2 separate regions of the Homo sapiens genome follow, and region 2 is linked to region 1. The links are contacts of gene promoters, found by promoter capture Hi-C in human tissues and cell types (Jung and others, 2019). All regions are on one chromosome and are shown on one strand. The core of a region is centred on a gene start or on the middle of the fragment in contact, and the rest is flanking DNA. Distances in the headings are between cores, read along the strand shown.

What was found. The method cuts DNA at HindIII sites, captures the fragments that hold promoters and counts their contacts. A contact is called where the count stands out against the background at its distance.
Region 2: a contact is called between a fragment that was not itself captured here and the fragment with the promoter of QRFPR in region 1, in 1 of the 25 tissues and cell types used here (H1 embryonic stem cells).

What each region holds. Positions count from the first base shown.
Region 1 is chr4:121,379,358-121,382,702 of GRCh38, forward strand. QRFPR (pyroglutamylated RFamide peptide receptor) reads right to left here and starts at 1,661. Exons shown (of 6, transcript NM_198179.3): 1 at 951-1,661. The coding sequence starts at 1,290. RefSeq lists an enhancer at 1,447-2,231. The HindIII fragment of the contact is 9,664 bases long and covers 1-3,345 here.
Region 2 is chr4:121,814,896-121,817,996 of GRCh38, forward strand. EXOSC9 (exosome component 9) reads left to right here. Exons shown (of 12, transcript NM_005033.3): 11 at 1,474-1,552; 12 at 1,877-2,126. The coding sequence ends at 1,961. CCNA2 (cyclin A2) reads right to left here. Exons shown (of 8, transcript NM_001237.5): 8 at 1,549-2,791. The coding sequence ends at 2,743. Among named protein-coding and RNA genes, the nearest start is that of CCNA2, 7.4 kb to the right of the region's middle. The HindIII fragment of the contact is 4,620 bases long and covers 1-3,101 here.

The DNA of each region.
Region 1 (3,345 bases), core at 411-2,910:
TGAAGGCATAATGATCTATTTCTCTTACATTTCTAACCATTTTGATGTGGCCACAAGAATACACCCAACCGTGAAAAAGGGGAGGCCCATGGTGCACCTTAAGCACTGGTGAGAATACAACACACTACTGCTCCTGGGTTTACACCAGGGCATTCTCCAGCTGTGTTCTTGGAAAAGCTGGATCATCTCAAGAAATATATCTTTTTTTCCAACCTCCACACACTGCTCCCAACTCAGTGACTCCACCTCTCCTCTGTCATTTTTTTTCCCCCATTATACGGAAGGAGGAGAATGTTATCTCTTCTTTTATAATAGGAGGGCATCAGTTTTCTGTGTTCCTTCTTCCTGCATGACACTTAATACAGTTTTTAAAAGGACTAGTTCAATATATTTTTTCTGCACATGAATTATATTTGTTTTATGCTCATAGGTACAAGAAGCTGTCTGCAAGCAACTGGGAAGTGAGGCTGGAGGGTGGGGGAATGAGGAAATGAGATTTTTAACTTTGGTTTAATTATTTGAAATATTTTTATCTCACTTTTAGTAAGAAAACTAGGGGAGAAAAACCTGGTAATGACGGGAAAGGGAGCTGAAATAAGTGGCGAGGGGTGCGACTTCCTGCCTCACTGCTCGGGACCTTTCCGAAGCTTTTCCCCAACCTATGTCTCTAAGCCACAAGGAGGAAGCACTGGAGGGGAATCAGAGGCGGCCAAAAGAACTTATGTCCAGGTGAACACAGGTGGCGAAGTTCTAAGAAAGAGCACCGGATTCATTTGACAGAGAAGTGTAAGGAAGAGACAGACGAGAGAGAGACAGACAGACGAGAGAGGAGAGAGAGAGAGAGAGAGAGAGAGAGAGAGAGAGAGAGAGAGAGAGAGAGAGAGAGAGAGATCCCCTGAAAGGCAGAGGGTTAAGAGAGAAGGAGCGAAGGAGCGGGGCGCGACTCTTACCCCCCAGCCAGTTGTCGGAAATGTTCTGGAGCATGGTGACGGGAATGCAGAAGAAGGTGATGAGCAGGTCACTGAGCGCCAAGGAGCAGATAAAGATGTTGGTGACGGTGCGCATGGCCTTGCTGCGGGTCACCACGTAGAACACCAGAGCATTGCCAAAGAGCGCCAGGGCGAAGATGAGCACGCCGGTGAGCACGAGGGCCAGCTTGGCGCGTCCCGGCAGCTCTGGGGTGTAGACGAGCGGTCGCAGCCGGTACAGAGCGATGAACTGCTCCCGCGTCAGGTTGTGGTCCCGCAGCAGCCGAGAGAACTGCTCCGGGGTAATGTTAAGCGCCTGCATTGCTGTGCGCTCCCGGGACGCGGGGCCACCGCCCGCTACTGGCTGGCCATCCGCATCTGCGGGGCAGCGAGGGCTTCGGGGGACCAGCCGGAGGCCGCCTCCCTTCCTCTACTCTGGAGTCAGCCGCGCGGGAGGGCTCTAGGCTGCACCCCGGGAGGTTCGGGAAAGGAGAGCAGCTCAGGGATCAAACCCACGATAAAGAGGCGGGAAGCCAAAGCACTGGGAGACTCGATCTCAGTGACCAAAAAATGTTCGCGGTTCAAATAAAGTTCTTCCCTTGCTCTTCCCTAAGGCGAGGCGCCGCCACGGTCTGGGGTGCTGGAGCGCCACGCGAGGGTCCTGGCGCCTCTGGCTCCCCGCCTTCTGGCCATGCGATGCGGACGCCGGACCCGCTTGGGGAGCGGTGGAGGGTGGGGCTGAACTCGGTGACGCCTCCCTCACACCCAGCTTCAGTGGCGCCAACGCCGCTTCCCCGCACCCTCAGGGCGAGGGAAGACTTCCCTGGCTCACCAACTTGCTGCCGCCCAGCGCCTTTCTCAGGGCATGGCCCCAGTCAGGTAATGCTTGTATGTGAAACTGGGTATTGGGGGGTTCCACAGTTTCAAGTTTCTCCTCTTGCGTAATAATGGGAGCCACAACTACCCAAGGCAAATAGGGCTTATTTTAAATTATTTTCTGTATTGAAAAATAATTAAGATAGTTAAAATATAGAACTTGGGAAATGGCAAAGATAATACAGAAAGATCCTGCGTACCCACCCTTCACCCAGTTTCTTTCATTCATTACATCTTATTTAACTACGGAACAATACAAAACCAGGAATTTGACACAGGTACAGTGTTTGCATGTTTTTATCTCAAGTGTAGATTCCCGTAACCGTCAGGATACAAACTCTTCTATCACCACAAAAATCTCCCTGGTGCTTTTTATACTCACACCTAGCCCCTCCCTCCACCATCTCTAACTCCTGGCAACCACTAATATGTTCTCTCTTAACTTTTGTCAGAACATTACGTAAGGGAAATCATACAATATGCTGCCTTTTGATATTGAATTTTCTTCGCTCAGCCTAATGCCCTTTAAATCCATCCAAGTTGTTGCATGTATTAATGGCTGTTTCTTTTTATTGCTGAGGCTGTATCACCGTTTATTTAACCATCCACCTCTTGTAGAACATTTTGGTTGATTACCATTTTGAGCTATTAAAAATAAAGCTGCTATAAAGAATCATGTACAGGTTTTTGTGTGAACATAGTTTTCCTTTCTATAGGAAATGCCAAAAGTTTTGATTATTGAATCTGTAATGTGTATATTTAATTTTTAAAGAGATTGACTACTTTTCAGAGTGGCTGTACAAGTCTCCATCTCTACCATCAATGCATGAGAAGTTACGTTTCTCCACATCCTTGCCAGCATTTGGTTTTGCTGCTTTTTTTTTTTAAGCTATTCTAATAGATCTGTAGTGATATCTCTTTAGGGCCTTAATTTACATTTACCTAATGGCAAGTAATATTGAACATCTCATGTGCTTATTTGCCGTCCTTGAATCTTCTTTGGTGAAATGTCTTTCCATGTGTTTTGTCCGTTTCTAATTGCATGGTTTAGTTTATTTGCTGTTGAAAGTTCTTTTTATATTCTACATACAAGTCCTTTGTTAGTAAACGGTTTGCAAATATGTTCTTCCAGTCTGTAGCTTGTTATTTATCTTCTTAACAGGGACTTTCACAGAACAGCTTTTAGTTTTAGTGAAGTCATATTTATCAATATTTTCTTTTATAGATAGCTTTTAGTGTTCAGTCTAACTTCACCAAAGCCTATTTCTCAAAAACTTTCTCTTAGGTATTTTTCTAAAAGTGTTATAGTTTTACATTTTATGTTTTGGGCTCTCTATTCTGTTGAATTGATCTATGTGTCTATCCTCCACATTCTTGACTACTGTAGCTATATAATAAGTTTTGAAATCAGGTAGCATGATTTCTCATACTTCATTCTTATTTTTCAAAATTATTGTAACTATTCTAGGACCTGTGCCTATTCATATACATTTTACAATCA
Region 2 (3,101 bases), core at 564-3,063, 440 kb after region 1:
AATGACTTATTTTCTTACGTGGTAAGAACAGAAATCCTACAAGGAACTGGGAGCTAGGCTGGCAGGGAAAATTGAAGGTGATGTGTTTAATAGGAATGTAATGCAAATACTTCTGTTTTCAAAGAGAGAAATTATTGCTTATGAACATTACTGGAGCCTGGGCTTTTTGTTTTTTTACTTAAGTAAATAGGTAAGGAAAAAATTTCCCATTGATTGGGACCCTTACTCAAATTTCCCAGTGGTTACTTCTATTTGGTATTATTCTTCCAGAACTTGTTCCAGGTATTTATTTACTCTCTGTGCAGTGATGTAAGCTAATGCTGCATATACTTGTATAGCATTGAATATAACTAGTTGGTTTAACAATTCTCTTATTGTTGAAGATGTAAGTTGTTTCCATTTTCTCACTGTTAATATCCTTGCACTTGCATATACCTCTTATATGTTTGTTTAGTGTATTCTTCTAACAGTGAATAATATTTTCAACTGAATATAATGAAGGTGGACCTAAGCATTGGAAAAATGGAGCAGGTACAGCCTTCCTAAAGCATGTGAACAAAGGGAGAAACTAATTGAAAACTAAAAATACAAATAATTGATATGGGTTAATTCACATTTTATGTATATCATTAACTAATAAGCAGGAGAAAAATGGGCAAAATACATGGAGCAGTTCTCAAAGTATACAATGGCCAGTAATATTTTTCATGGTCAGCCCTGACAGTAATACAAATAAAATCCAAAGAAAAATGACATGGCATTTTTTGTTACTGTATTTTGGGCAGTATTAAAAACACCAGCAATGCCAAAGGTATATGGGAAATGGGTTCTTTTATTTCTTGGAATGTAAACTGGAACTATTTCTGGAGGAATAGAGTAGCACAAACAATTCAGTTGTCTCTACAAAAGATGCTATATACATTTCCCCCTAGCTTTTCTATTATGACATGTACCAAATTGTCACACCATTCAAGCACCTGTAGGAAATAAGAGTTTAAAGAAACAAATGTTACAGATGAGTTCTAGAGTGCTCTAAGAAGCTGATTTAAAGAAAAGATTAAGCCTCCACCTAGAGTTTTATTTTTATTTTTTGGGATGGAGTCTTGCTCTGTCACCCAGACTGGAGTGCAGTGGCACTGCAACCTCCACCTCCATGGGTTCAAGCGATTCTCATGCCTCAGCCTCGAGTAGCTGGGCCTACAAGCACATGCCACCACGCCTGGCTAATTTTTCTATTATTTTTAATAGAGCTGGGGTTTCACCATGTTGGCCAGACTGGACTCGAGTTCCTGACCTCAGGTAATCCACCTGCCTCAGCCTACCAAAATGTGGGTATTAAAAGTGTGAGCCACCACGCCCAGCCCCAGAAATAAGAGTTTAGAACGTCTGATAGAAATAAATTCATGTAGAAATAAATTTTGCAAGAGATTGCTTAACTTTTTTTTTTTTTTTTAAATTAATAAAAAAACAAAGATGCTCCCATAATACTCTCAGATAGTGAAGAAGAAGAAATGATCATTTTGGAACCAGACAAGAATCCAAAGAAAATAAGGTAACAAATTTCTGGTTTATTTCAAATGTATACATATACTCAACACTTATAGAGGTTTGCTCTCTGGTTTTACTCTCATCTTGCCACATGACTATAAACAAAAAGACATCCCTTTTTCATTAGAGATCCATCTGTTCTGTGATTTTTTTACCTTGTGATTTATAAAAATTAGGACCTAAATCTATAATATAAACTTCTTGGATGCCAGTCTTACTCATAGCTGACACATTTTAGATCCTACTGGAAAACTAAGAAATGCCTCTTATTTCAATAATCCAAAACTTAACATACTCTTAGTAAATTCTTACTTTGCTTTATTCACAGAACACAGACCACCAGTGCAAAACAAGAAAAAGCACCAAGTAAAAAGCCAGTGAAAAGAAGAAAAAAGAAGAGAGCTGCCAATTAAAGCTAACAGTTGTATATCTGTATATATAACTATTAAAAGGGATATTTATTCCATTCTGAGAACCCTGGGTATTTTTTATTCACAAATCCATTATAAAATCTAGCAGGATTTTAAAAATAGTTTTTTGTTTTTAATGTGCTTTAAAATAATAAACCTTCTGGAGCATTTCTCGTCTGTTAATTTGCATATAAGCTTCCCACCCTCTTCCACTCCCAACCTCTGTTGAGTTTACCTCGCAAAACCTAAACAAACAGGTTTTACAAAGAGCGAAAAAGTCTGGGGAATCTCTACTGTATCTATCTCTGAATACTGTATTCAGATATGCTTAGATTAGATTATGCCCAAGTCAGCAAATTGATCCAGTTGCTTAGGAAAATGAATGTCAGAATTTGAGGGTCTGTTTTCCTAAACCTACTTTAATTTTAGAGGAAGGCTTTTCACTTCCCATTATATAGTAAACCAAGTAAACTTCTTTACTAAGCAAAATCCTGAAGAAGTTAAATTTGACTTGCAAAGTTTTCCAAATCAATTTATTATCCTGACAGCTGGCATCATTAATACTTTAACAAAACCACTTAAAATTAGCCAAATATCTAAGACAGATACATATACAAAAGATATACAAATTAAAACCATTTAAAAAGTAATAGATACCATAATTTGTACTTGGCCACAACTTCTGTATTCAGAAATGATTGTAAAATTAAAACCTAAGTTAAAAACTGTACACCATATACTTTGAGTGATTTACATCTTAGAAAACAAAGGCAGTCTTTCATTGTTACAGATTTAGTGTCTCTGGTGGGTTGAGGAGAGAAACACCATGATACCTGTAAGTAGGGAAAAAAAAAGCATTTTTAGTAAACACTCACTGGGTAAAGGAGATCATGGAATAATGTTTGTACTCATGTATTGGGAACTAAAAAATGCTATTTCTGTCTGACCGACTTGATGGTTTTAGAAACACTGTCTGGTCCCTGAAACACACATGCATGCCCCCTTCCTTCTCTCTTCTCCCCCAGACCCAGGGCAGAAAGCATGAACTACAACCTTCTTCAAACACATAACCAATTTAGAGAACAGCTTCTCAAGGAGGCTATGGCAGATTCATGAATAAGGTTAAAATGTCAAAGATCTCTG